Linked DNA regions of Homo sapiens: region 2 is linked to region 1. The links are contacts of gene promoters, found by promoter capture Hi-C in human tissues and cell types (Jung and others, 2019). All regions are on one chromosome and are shown on one strand. The core of a region is centred on a gene start or on the middle of the fragment in contact, and the rest is flanking DNA. Distances in the headings are between cores, read along the strand shown.

The links. Contacts are between HindIII fragments. The study calls those that stand out against the background at their distance.
Region 2: a fragment that was not itself captured here is called in contact with the fragment with the promoter of SLC6A1 in region 1 in 1 of the 25 tissues and cell types used here (small bowel).

What each region holds. Positions count from the first base shown.
Region 1 is chr3:10,990,001-10,996,806 of GRCh38, reverse strand. It overlaps SLC6A1 (solute carrier family 6 member 1), which reads right to left and starts at 4,059. Exons shown (of 16, transcript NM_003042.4): 1 at 3,878-4,059. RefSeq lists an enhancer at 3,215-3,739. The HindIII fragment of the contact is 17,540 bases long and covers 209-6,806 here.
Region 2 is chr3:11,342,667-11,349,206 of GRCh38, reverse strand. ATG7 (autophagy related 7) reads right to left here. Exons shown (of 21, transcript NM_001349232.2): 14 at 1,172-1,330. Among named protein-coding and RNA genes, the nearest start is that of ATG7, 74 kb to the right of the region's middle. The HindIII fragment of the contact is 4,142 bases long and covers 986-5,127 here.

The DNA.
Region 1 (6,806 bases), core at 2,810-5,309:
GGGGTGGAGGCAGCGGGGGGCGCTCATGGTCATTGCCAAGTAAGCAGTGTCAGGGGCTTTTAGTGGCAGAGATTTAAGCATGCTGTGACTGAGTTTGGGCTTTAAGGCTATTTACCAGCCCAGTGATCCTGCAGCAAGTGCTTTAGCCCCTCTCCTCCTCAGTTTCCTCACCCTGACAGGGATCATTATGCTACGTATCTCACAGGGTTTTGTGAAAATTAACTGCAACGATATAAAGCACACAGCACAGTCCCTGGCATATTGCCAACATGCAGTAACTGACAGTTATTACTGTTTTTGATACAATTGCATTGGAACAATATTTAGTGTTTTCTTTCTTTTCTGTTTATGACTGAATTCCAGGTCTCTGCTGAAATATCACAGCTTGCATTCACACCTACTGCCTATGCCAGGCAACTCTCCTGTCTGCTACTGGCCCACTTCCCACTGACTCCATAGCCCCTTCCCCTGACCCCAGAGGTCTTAGGTGAGCATGGAGTAGATGAAGATGCTGGATGTTAATATGCTCACTGAGACCCATTTCCTGGGAAGTCCTATTTTGGGGTGCACATCTGGCCTCCCAATCTTTTCTTTTTCAAGCACCAACCTCTTCCCCTCCATCTCCCAGTGCCCTTCAGAGAATGGGGTAAAGTTGGCAAGAAGAGCCACCCGTGCAGGGCCTGTCTGAGAAGCCAGCATCGAGGCATGCCAAGCCACAGAGCAGTGGACACAGGATGATCTTTTCACCTTGTGGGGGAAGTGCCCAATGCTCTTGGCAACTGAAGTCAATTCGAGGTTGCTGTCATTCAGCGGGGCTATACCCTGCCCACCATTCTCCAGGCACAGAGAAGCTCAGGCGACGTTGCATGGGTGAATTGAAGGGGTAGTCCCGACACAGGCATAGACAGGCCTGCTGACGCTTGCATTTTAGTTTTCATTTGGGCAGAGAGGGGATGAAGTGGCTCTAACTGGGTTTGGCATTGGGGCTGTGGCTGAGGAGAGGGGCTGCTGGGGCGGGGGTGGTAGTCAAGGGGAAGGTGGGCACATTTTGGGCTAGGCAACAGGGATGGGCTTCTAAGGACAAAGGAGATGGACTTCAGGATGCAGGTGGCTAAAGGTGGTGGCAAGGCTGAATCAACGGTCATTAACACTCTGCCTGAGACCCATAGACAAGCAAGAGGGTGGAAAAGACATCTCCAAATTCCAAGTAGCATGGAACTCTATCTCAGCTGCTGAGCTCACAGCCAAGCCAAGGAATGGAGTCTTTGTGTGATGGCAAGAAGTGGCCTGATATTGGTGCTTTATTTATTTCATGGTGCTCTCCACATGTCATATGCCACCAAGGTAGAGGACCAGCCACTGCTCCCATGGCAGGCCCACGGGAACTACCACCCCATCACTTCACTTTACAGATGGAAAAACCGAGGCCCAGAGACCCACAATAGGACAGAGTTGGCCTGGAAATTAGAACAGTAGGGTTAAGATCCCTGCCCTTCCTCCTCCTGGCTATGTGACCTTTGACAAGTCACTTCCCCTCTCTGCATCCAGTTTCATCGCCTCTGAAGTGGGGATTAGAATAGTGCCTGCTCCACACGGTTCTTGTAGGAATAATCCCTGGCACATTGGAAGCTTTGGGTACTCCATTCCTTCCTTCCAACAGGAACAAGAACGTACCCAAGGTCACCTGGCCAGAAATGGCAATGCCCCAGCTCAAAGCAAACCCTCATCTGGGGCTCGTTCATTCCCGGCTATGGACTAAGGGGCCACATTTTATAGCCTTCCTGGCTCAGTGAGACAGGTACAGATTGCAGGTAGGTCCATGCCAGTGATAGCATCACCTTCCATCCATGCAGGCTTTATTCTAAGAGGTTTATTGAGGTCCTGCTGTGTGCTGGGCCACGTGTAAAAAAATTTATAGCCTCTGCTGCTCCGGGGTCACCAGGCATGTAAAATCCGTGGCAGGCAGGAGAGACGTGGCCACTGTGCATCTTTTGGCTTCGATGGACTTGATTTTGCCTCATCTTTACCCTCTAAGCTACCTACTCCTTGGTCTCCAGACATCCTTCCCAGCCCCATCTAAGTTCCTGGAGACCCACTTCTCATCAAGCCTCCAGACCTGAAATAAAGTGTCCCACATCAGGACAGAGGGTCCCTGATTTTACCTCCAGAGTGGCTGCCTCTCTCCTGTGTGTTCCTAGGGGAACCCCACTTTCCAGATGCTCTGCCAGACAGGCCGGGCTGCGTCTCTCTGCTTGGGACTCACTGTTTGTCCTCCAAGGACTGGCCACTGAGCCAGTGCTTGGCTGGAGACAGAGCTCTTTCTTTGTTTGCTGCCTGCCTGACGATTTATTTCTGAGGCTCAAGGGAGGCTCAGCCATTTTGCCAGGGCTGCTCTGGGAAAAGGTCTGTCCCACTCCCCCAGGGACTCCCACTTCTAAGGGCAAGTTCTTTTTCCCCTTCTCTGCCTTGGAGAGGGTCTGTCCTGCCCCAATCAGACCCTGATCTGGAGCTGGGTCAGTCCTTCCCAATGTGCTCCAAAGATAAAGAGATAACATGCAAAATGCGAGTAGCTTTCACTGACCTCTTTTGTTTTGGAATTTGGGGGACTGGGGTAGCAGCCTTTTTGGCTCCCTTAGGAGGACACTTCCCCCAAAGTTCCCAAAGACACAGAATCTAGGCACTATCCAGCACCCAACATCCCTACTCTCTTGCCAAACACCCACCTTGTGTGTCATAGAAAAACAAAGGTAGACCCCCAATGCCACTCAGTCTGATACCGTCTCTGATTTTTGGGGTGTCACAAATCTCAGGAGCCATTTTATTCCCGCCCTCCCCGCCCCCCCAGCTCTTCATGGGGATAAGGCTGAGCTTCCTGGGAAAGGGAATGAGCGCTCCAGCCCCACATCCGGAAAGAACGTGGTGTTATCATTTGGCTTTTAAAAAATTCTCCTTGTGGTTCATGTCTATTTTGGGAGGATATTAGCTCAGAGCCTCAATAGGGGACTGCCCGGTCTGAGTTTCTTGTCTGAAGACCGAGCCAAGCCTAGAACAGGACATCTGTGGGTGCCACCCGTGGGGACGTGTGCTCAGAACCCAATGGGCACTGCCCGAGGCTACCGTGGTGAGCGGTGTCGCGCCGGGGAGTACACGCAGAGACCAAAAGCAAGAAGGGGAGCGCAGTTCCCGAAGCAGCAAGGAGGCACCGTCCTCCAGCCCTCTAAGGGACCGCCCGCACCCCACATCTCTTGGAGAAAGTCGGGGCTGGGAGAGCGCGGCGCGAGCTCTGGTGCACTAGGCTTAGCTCCGGTGCACTCAGCCCAAGCCCCGGTGTGCTTTTAAGCCAACGTTTCTGAGAGCTCGGGCTGTCCCAGAGACGTCCCATCCTCAAGTCGCACCCGACCCCGCCGTAGCCCGCAGAGAACAAATGAGGGGCATAGCTCTAACTCGGCTCAGCTGACCCCAGGATTGGGAAAGTGGCGCACGGCCCCCCAACGCTGCTCGTGTCATTCACTCCGCGTCCCCTCCATGCCCTGGGGAATGAATAGGGAGCTTCGACGGCTCCAGCAGAATCCAGTGCCAACTTGCGGGGCCAGTGGGGCACCGCGGGAGGGAAGGGGCATGCAACTCTCGCCTCTGTTCCAGCCCTCCTGCCTCCCGAGTGTCCCAGGGGACGGATGGCCTGGGCGCACGTCGGGGTCCGAGCGGCGCCTCTGCTCCTTCATGTGGCTCAGGGAAGGTGCGGCGCGGGGGCTTGAATCTCGAGGTGTCCGCCCCCCACCCGGCCCGGCTCGCGGCAGCGGCTCGGGGCTCTGGCCGTTCCTGCGCCGTTATCCCAGGCTCTGCGCCCCGCGCCCCGACGCCGGCCGCCCTTTCCTACCTGCGGCCGGGGCTGCGCTGCCCGGGACAGGCGCTGCATCCGGGCGGCTCGGCCGCTCCGATGCGCTCGGGACGCGGGGCCGCTCGGGCTCGGGCTCAGCGCTACTGCGCTCCCGACTCCTCGGCTCCTGGGCTCAGCGCAGCTCACCCGCAACCTCTCCGCTGTCTCGGTCTTCCGAGGGCGGGCGGAGGGTCGCGGGGAAGGGAGAGGAGGGGGGAGCGAGTCCGGAGGGATGGAGGGGGAGGGCAGGGCCCGCGGCGCCCGGAGCCCGCCCAGCTCGGGTATAGCCCTGCCCGCACCGCCCGCCCCCGCCCAGCGCTCCCCCAGGCCCGCCGCGCGCTCCCTCCGCAGCTGCCTCTTGCAGCTTCGCCGCCAGCAGGCTCTCTCCTTTTCCCTTCACCTCCTCTCCCCTTCTACGCCTCCCCTCTCCCTTCTTTCCTCTCGCATTCTCCCGCTCTCTTCTCCCTCCTTCTCCCCTCTCTTCCTCCCTCTTTCTCCCCTCTCTTCCTCCCTCCCTCTCCCCACCCCCTCCTTCCCTCGCCTGCCCCGCCGTCCCGCTCCAATCTCTCTCCTTCCTTCTCCTTCCTTTGATGGCTCTTTCCGGCCTCATCCTGGGTCACCAGCCTGTCTGCCTGTCCGTCTTGGTCTCTGTCTCCCTGTCTTTCACAGCAAGCACTCCCCTCCTGGCTTTTCTCCTTCCAGCCTTGCAGTACTGCTTCCGTTGGCCTGTCCTTTCCGTTTCTCTCTGCGGTCGTCCTCTTTTCGCCCTCTGTGGGTCGCTGTGGGTTGGGGTGGGCCCGTGCCCCCTCCCTGCTCTAGTCCTAGGGCAGCGTCTGCTGCCCGTTACACCTGGAAACACAGGCCTGGCCTGGGGTGACCAGGCTCTGGGTACCAGCTGGGAGTGTGTGTAAGAGTGGGGGTGGGAAGGACACCCTTCCACTGCCAGCGGTTGGTCATGGAGACACAAGTGGCTGTGTGTATGGATGGACAGATGGGGAAACAGATTACTTAAAAGGGAAACAGGGATGGTGGCAGGAGCCCCAGACACCCTTCTCTCAGTTCTTGAGGTTTGAGGGATTCTCCCAGAGAAGTCCCCTTTCCAGCCAATCCCAATCCAGCACGTAGGGACTCCTTCCCTTGTCCTTGCCAAGGCCTGACCTCCCCACCCTCTTTTATAAAGGCTTCTGGGAATGGGGCCACATCTGCCCTTCCCTCTGGGGTCCCCAGGAACTCAGAGAAAAGATTCCTTCTCTCCAGCCCAGACCTACTCTTCCCCTCCTCTCTTTGTCCCCAGGGATGGCCTTTGCTGATGGACCTCAGGTCCTCTACCCCACCTAATCTGGCCTCCTCCCTGCTTTCATCCATCCTCGAGTCCCCCAGGGCAGTGCTCACCAAGGTCACCCTGACTTCTTCTGTTTCCCCACACTCTCACTCATGAGCAGGGAATCTTGGTGTCTTTCTTGACCCATTCACCTCCCACCACTGATCACCAGGTCATATGTGCTGTGGACTTCCGTTGGTATTTCAAATAAATATTTCCCGAGTTCCACCTGTGTGCCAGGCACTGTCCTAGGCTCCAGGGACAGAGCGATGGACAAGACAGGCCACAGCTTTCAAGGTGATGCCAGTCCAGTATGGGAGACAGGCTTTCATCAAATAACCGCACAAACCCAGAATGACAAGCTCTGCCAGGAGCACACATGCAGGGGATTCTAGTCCAGCAGGGGATTCCAGTCTAGTGTGGGATGGTTTGGGAAGGTTTCCTCAAGGAAGCGCCATTTGAACTGAGGTCTGAAGGATGAGTAGGAGCTGTCTGGATGGAGATGTGGGGCATAGCTTTGAGTGGAGATACAAGGGTAGCAAAAATGAAGGCTACTTTTGCTTGCCTGACATTCATTTCAACTTCTTTGGGTGACAGAACCTCAATTTTCATTTGGGAAACTTCCCCTCCTTCACTCATATTCAATATGGTTGGGTGGGGCTCCCTCCTCCTGGAGACAGACATGTGACCCAGGGCACAGATAATCAGAGCACATCACTCTGACCTCAATGAGGGGACGTGTGACATATGCTGGGCCAATGAGAACTCTGTCTGGGACTTTTGCTAAAACTATTGTCAAACAGAAACTCAATCTCCACCAAAGCTCCTAAGCATAGAGGTGTTGGCAGCCATCTTTGCAGAACTTGAGCAGACCCGACCTAAAATGAAGCCAACATAGAGGAGAGCAGAACTGAGAGACAGAGAGTGGAGTGAGTCTTGATGTATATCAGGTCCCTGGATCCAGCCATACCTGAAGGCAGTGTCAGCTATTTATATCATTAAATTGTTTTTCCTATGCTACACAAGTTTGAATTCAGTTTATGTTGCTTAAAACCAAAATAGTCTTCATGAATCCAGTGTTGGATTGAGAATTATGAAGCATTATAAAAAGGAATAATAATAGCCATTCCCATCCCCCTTTTGTCCTTCGTGTTTTCTGGGTAACCTCATTCACAATTGTCTCTCTGTTTTTTCTACGTTGCTGACCAGAAATGAATTCCTCTCTCTTTTCATCCCTCTGGATTTGTTTTGCTTACATATGAAAGCAAACTCTAGCTATCAGGTCAATTTCATAGGCTGACCATCTGATGCTTGAATTATCTCCATGACATTCCCTGCCCCCGCTGGCATTCTCTGCCCCTGCCCTACACCCATGACTGTCCAGCGTATGTCTGCATCTCTGCAAGGATGGGGAGAGCTCATTATTCCACCAGGAAGATGGTTTCCAACAAACTCTTATCACAGTCGAGCTCTGAGAGCTGTCTCTGGTGCAGTGAGACTTCAGATAGGGACACTATATTGTGAAGGCGAGGTAGTTGCATGCAGGGCTTCCAATACTCTTTCAAAAAGCCTGAGTTGAAGTCTTTCAGAGAACTCATATGCATACCT
Region 2 (6,540 bases), core at 1,807-4,306, 350 kb before region 1:
GCACCAGTCAGCACTCTGTAGAAACGCACCAATCAGCGCTGTGTGTCTAGCTAAAGGATTGTAAATGCACCAATCAGCACTCTGTAAAAACACACCAATCAGCACTCTGTGTCTAGCTAGAGGACTGTAAACGCACCAATCAGCACTCTGTAAAAACACACCAATCAGCGCTCTGTGTCTAGCTAGAGGATTGTAAACACACCAATCAGCACTCTGTAAAAACTCACCAGTCAGCACTGTGTCTAGCTGGAGGATTGTAAACGCACCAATCAGCACTCTGTAAAAACATACCAATCAGCGCTCTATGTCTAGCTAAAGGATTGTAAATGCACCAGTCAGAACTCTGTAAAAAGGCATCAGTCAGCGCTCTGTGTCTAGCTAAAGGTTTGTAAACGCACCAATCAACACTCTGTAAAACTGACCAATCAGCACCCTGTAAGATGGACCAATCAGTAGGACGTGGGTGGGGACAAATCAGGGAATAAAAACTGGCCACCCCAGCCAGCAGCAGCAACCCACTTGGGTCCCCTTCCACGCTGTGGAAGCTTTGTTCTTTTGTTCTTCACAATAAATCTTGCTGCTGCTCACTCTTTGGGTCCACACCACCTTTAAGAGCTGTAACATGCGAACGTCCGTGGCTTCATTCTTAAAGTCAGCGAGACTATGAACCCACCAAACTCCAGACACATCTGAAGGAACAAACTCCAGACACATCATCTTTAAGAGCTGTAACACTCACTGCGAAGGTCTGCAGCTTCATTCTTGAAGTCAGCAAGACCAAGAACCCACCGGAAGGAACCCCACGAACCCACTGGAAGGAAGAAACTCCAGACACATCTGAAGGAACAAACTCTGGACACATCATCTTTAAGAGCTGTAACACTCACTGCGAAGGTCCGCGGCTTCATTCTTGAAGTCAGCAAGACCAAGAACGCACTGAAGGAACCAACTCCAGACACACTGGGATTGCAGGTATGAGCCACCATGCCTGACCTGGTTGTGTTTTTTTATCCCTCTCTGAGATGAGGAAACAGAGGTTCAGCCACATAGCGAGTGGCTGGTAGAAAGTGACAGATATCTGACTCTCTTTCTTCAATGCCACAGGCCTCATTTCCCAAGACTTAAACATTTATACATATAACAGAAAACCTCTGCAAAAGCAACAACATACCACACCGGGGAATATTTTCTGGAGCCGGTCCGCTGCTGCCAGAGCCTTGGGCTTACCACCCCCTAGGCAATCTTCAAACTCATAGAGAGGCTGCCTCACAGGATTGGAGTAGGAGATCTTGGCATTGTCCACAAATGTGATGTGTCTCACGCCCCAACCCTGTGTGGAAACAGGAGATCATGGTGTGTTTCTGATGAACATTTCACAGGGTGCTGTCTCTTGAAATCTCAAAAAGAATATTGGTTTGGAGAAGCTTGGGAACCTCAAAACACAAGAAACTTCAGAAACTGAATTGTGCAAATTCAGGTTACGATAAACAGAATGTTGACTTTCCTTAGAAAACAACATAATTATATACTCAGTGCCTGGTTTCCTGTAATAAGACTAAAAAATGTCAAGTGGAACAGACTAATAATTATTTTTGACAGTGTCACCAAAGATTTGGAGGTGAATCCCATAAGAATTGTCTATGTTGTTGTTTTAAAAAGATTAGCAATAGCCCCTAAATGTCCTTGATTTCCCTTAACGAATAATTAAGTATAAATAACAACTACTCTTGAAGCTCATTTAAAGCCTGAATGAACTCCTCCAAAAAATGACTCACAAATTATTTCCCACTGTATGATATTTTAGAACATTTTGTACCATTTCTTCAAGAGGCAAAGCCTTATTAATAATCTGGAATTTAGGGAACAAGTCTATATTCTTAGAAATAGTTTTCACGGTTTTATAGACTTCAATTATGTCTCCTATAACAGTTTTATAAAACCATACGATTTTAAAGGTAGATGGGATCTCTAAAATCCTTGGTCCAATTACTTTGTTTTACAGATATGGAAACTGATGCCCAGGAAAGATAAGTGATTTGCCTAAGAGATACATCTGGTTAATGGTGGGAATGAATGAGCTCTCCAGAGGTGCAACCAAATGAAGTTGCCTACTTCTTGGGGTAGGGTACAGTGGGTATATTTTAGTAGATCATAAGTAAGCATACTGACCTAAGAGATGTCCTGCCATGACTGGCTACAAGGCTAAGATTCTGCTCTCTCTTATTTCAATATCTTTCCATTAGAAACTGAGAGACTCAATTAGATTGAAGGTTTCAGAGATCCAGCCAACAAGGACCCAAGATTTGTTTTCTGTGTCGAGAACGACAGGCCAGAATCTGCCTTTCATAAGCATAGGTTAGACTGACTGTTTTGAAGCCCACTGGTAACCTTTTGGTCTACCCACCCAGTTTTGTAAATTATTTTCATCATCTAAGCAACCTACCATGGAGGCAGAATAAAGTCACTTGTGCTTGCTTTGGGAATGTTTATTTCTGAAGTATTTTTGCATTCCTTAAAGCAACTGATGAGTGGATAGCAAGGAAGGCACTCTGGGAACGTGCTGGGTAGTGGGAAGAAAGCCAGATACATTACAAACATGCCATAGGTTAGTCACATGCAGGTGTATTTGCACACACTTAACTTTTGGTTTCCTGGAATGCTACACAGTTTAAATGGCTAATCTGCAAAGATTAAAGAAAATCACAATACTCAATGCTGGTGAGGATGTGGTAGGGAGAAAATCATCCTACTGATTGAGAATGTTAAAGTGGTCTAATCTTCCTGGAAAGCAATTTGGCAGTATGTTTCTAGAATCTTAAGAATACCCATATCCTATGACCTATTTCCAGCAATTTATCCTAAGAAATAATCTGACATACTGACCAAGATGCAGTCACAAAGATGTTCTTTGCAGCACAATTTACAATTGTAAAAAACTGGAAACAATGTTAATGCTGAACATTAGGAGAAGGGTTCAGTAAGTTATGTTTCATCCTATCAGAAGGCATATTCTACAGTCATAAAGCTTTAGCAGACATTGCAGTGAACTCATGCAGTCCTGACTACTCGGGAGGCCAAGGTGGGAACATCACAAGGTCCAGTCCAGCCTGGGCAACAAAGCCAGAACCTGTCCCAAAAAATAAAAAGGCCTCATAGACAGGCATCATTTTTAATGACATGTTAATTGGTAAGAGCAAAGGACATTATTATATATCTAATAAAATGTTAAAATACACATTAAACACTGAAATGTGACAAGTGAAAAAGCGGTAGGAAAATGAGTGTCTTCTTTCCTGCTTTATGACTTTTATATTTTCTATAATGGCTTTATGTTGACTTTGAAATTTTGAAAAATGTTAGGAAAATCTAAGCATCTAAAAATTCTAGAACCTAGAAAAAGACAGTAAAATAAATTCCACAGAAGGAGGAAAAAATTAATAAAGATAAAAGTAGATATTTACGAATCTGAAAGCAAAATGAGACAGAAACAAAAATTATAGAATAAATAAAGTAATGCTCCAAAAAAACTGATAGACAAGCCTCTCTAGCAAGGCTTAATATGAGGAAAAAAGAGAAAACACAAATATACAACATTAGGAATATGAAAAGATTTTTTAAAAGATAAAAGGAAGATTTAAAAGAGAATACCATATGTATTTTATGTCAATTAATTTTTAAAGCTAGAAAAGCAGTACAAAATCTAAAAAGGTGAGTCAACACAGAAACATCTGTAAAAGTTTACAAAGATTCCCACCACCCTTACTACCCCAACCAACAAAATTCTTTTATTTTATTTTTGAGACAGAGTCCTGCTCTGTCACCCAGGCTGGAGTGCAGTGGCGCTATCTCCGCTCACTGCAAGCTCCACCTCCTGGGTTCACGCCATTCTCCTGCCTCAGCCTCCCGAGTAGCTGGGACCACAGGCGCCTGCCACCATGCCCGGCTAATTTTTTTTTGTATTTTTAGTAGAGACGGGGTTTCAACCGTGTTCTCCAGGATGGTCTCGATCTCCTGACCTCATGATCCGCCCGCCTCGGCCTCCCAAAGTGCTGGGATTACAGGCGTGAGCCACCGTGCCCGGCCCAACAAAATTCTTAAATGCATCAGGCCCAGACGGATTTATAACTGAATTTTACCTAACCATCAAAGAACAGATAATTCATTTATTTAAATTGTTCTGGAACTTAGAAAAAGGCAGAACGTTTTAAGTTTATTTTATAAAGCTAGCATAATGTAGCTATAAAATATACAAAGATAGAACAAGGAATAACATGACTATAAACCAATTTGACTTATGAAGTGAGATGTAAAATTTATTGGTTAATTGATCGGTTGATTGAGACAGTGTCTTGCTTTATCACGCAGGCTGGAGAGCAGTGGCACGATCTTGGCTCACTACAGCCTCAACCTCCTGGTCTGAGGCAATCCTTCCACCTCAGCTCCCGAGCAGCTGCAACTACAGGCACGCGCCACTACAGCCTGGCTAATTTTTATATTTTTTTTGTAGAGATGGAGTTTCGCCACGTTGTGCAGGCTGGTCTCGAACTCCTGAGCTCAAACGATCCGCCCACCTTGGCCTCCCAAACTGCTGGGATTGCAGGTGTGAGCCACCGTGCCCGGCCAAAATGTAACATTTAAAAACAAAACATTACTAATTGAATTCAAGAGTATATGAGAAGAATAAGATACCACGTACAAATAGGGTTTATTCTAGGAATGCTCAACATTAGAATACTTTGTCTTGATAAACGTAGTTGATAAAGCTCGACATTTCTGATATAAACGTGCAGAAACAGAAATCAGCTTCTTTAAATTATAAAGAACACTTACCAGAAACCAACATCAAAATTAAAGATAAAAACAAGAGGCACTCTCATTAAAGTCAGCAATAAAACAAAGATATCAACTCTCACTGCCATTCTTCTACATTACTGTGGAGTTCTAGCCAATCTTATAAGACAAGGAAAAGGAAGATATAAGTGTTGGTGAGGAATACTATTAAGCTACAAAAGAATCAAAAAACTCTTAGAACTAAGAGAGTTTAGAAAGATGGCCAAAGACAAATATGCAAAATTCACTATTTTTCCTACATCCCAGTAATAGTCAACTGGAAAGTTTAACGGGAGAAAATATCTCTAAAGGAAAAAACATCATTAAATATGCAGAAATACCATATTTAAACCCAATTAGATACATGGAAGGCCTATATAAAGAAAATGCTACTGAAAAACAAAGATGATCTAATTAAGAGATACACCATGCTCCCAGAACTAAGGATTAATGTCATAAAAATACATCAATCCCTTCTAATTTATCTATAAATTCATTGTAATTTCAACTAAAACAGTGAGCATGAATATAGGAATAAAAAAATAGATCAATGAGTCAAAATAGAGAATCCATAAAGAGACTCAGGTATATAAGGGGGTTTAGCATTTGATAAAGACAGAAAAATGATGATTTAGATTACTGAATAAATGCCATTAAAACAACTAACAATCCATTTTGTGCAAAAGTAGCTAGATCTTTACCCCTTATCATGTAACCAAAAAATTTCCACATTCATAAAGCTCTAACATAAAAACAAGAGTTCCATAACCCACAAAGGAAAAGACTGACACATATAATAACATAAAGCTGAAAAAAACTTTTATATGGCTAAAGACACCTTAGATAAACTGAGAAAAATATTTGCATCATATTACAGAAAAAAGGTTAATTGCCCCAATAAAAAGAACTCTAAATCAATAAAAGACACAACCCAAAGAACATGAATAAAAGAAATAAAACTCACAAAAGAAATAAAATTAAACTCACCCTTGCTAATTAAAGAAACACAAATTCAAACAATAAATGTTACTTAACTGACTGAGATTTCAAAAGTTGATATATCCAGTTTTGGCAAGAGCGTGGAAAAAAGTTCTGTGTCTCATATGTGTAACATTTTTGGAAGGCAATTTCGTTTGAAAAACATGTTTGGCCAGGCGTGGTGGCTCACACCTGTAAACCCAGCACTTTGGGAGGCCAAGGCAGGCGGATCACTTGAGGGCAAGAGTTCAAGACCAGCCTGGACAACATGATGAAACCCCGTCTCTACTAAAAATACAAAAATTAGCCAAGTGTAATGGTGCACACCTGTAGTCCCAGCTACTCGGGAAGTTGAGGCAGGAGAATCGCTGAACTCAGGAGGTGGAGGTTGCAGTGAGCTGAGATCATGCCACTGCACTCCAGCCTGGGTGACAGAGTGAGACTTTGTCTCAAAAAAAAAAAAAATTAATGACAAACAAATATATAAAATATTGACATTCAAATTCTATACTCTCTCTAACACAGTAATTCTATGTCCAGGGTTTTTTTCCTAAAAAAAAAAATCCTATGGATATATAAACATACAAGTATAAGAATGTTCTCTAATAGAGAACAGTATCTAATAGAAAAAAATAGAAAGTAATCTGAAATTGATTAAATAAAGAACATAGTCATACAACAAAATACTACACATACATACTATGGAAACACAGAAAGGTAGCTACAGTCATT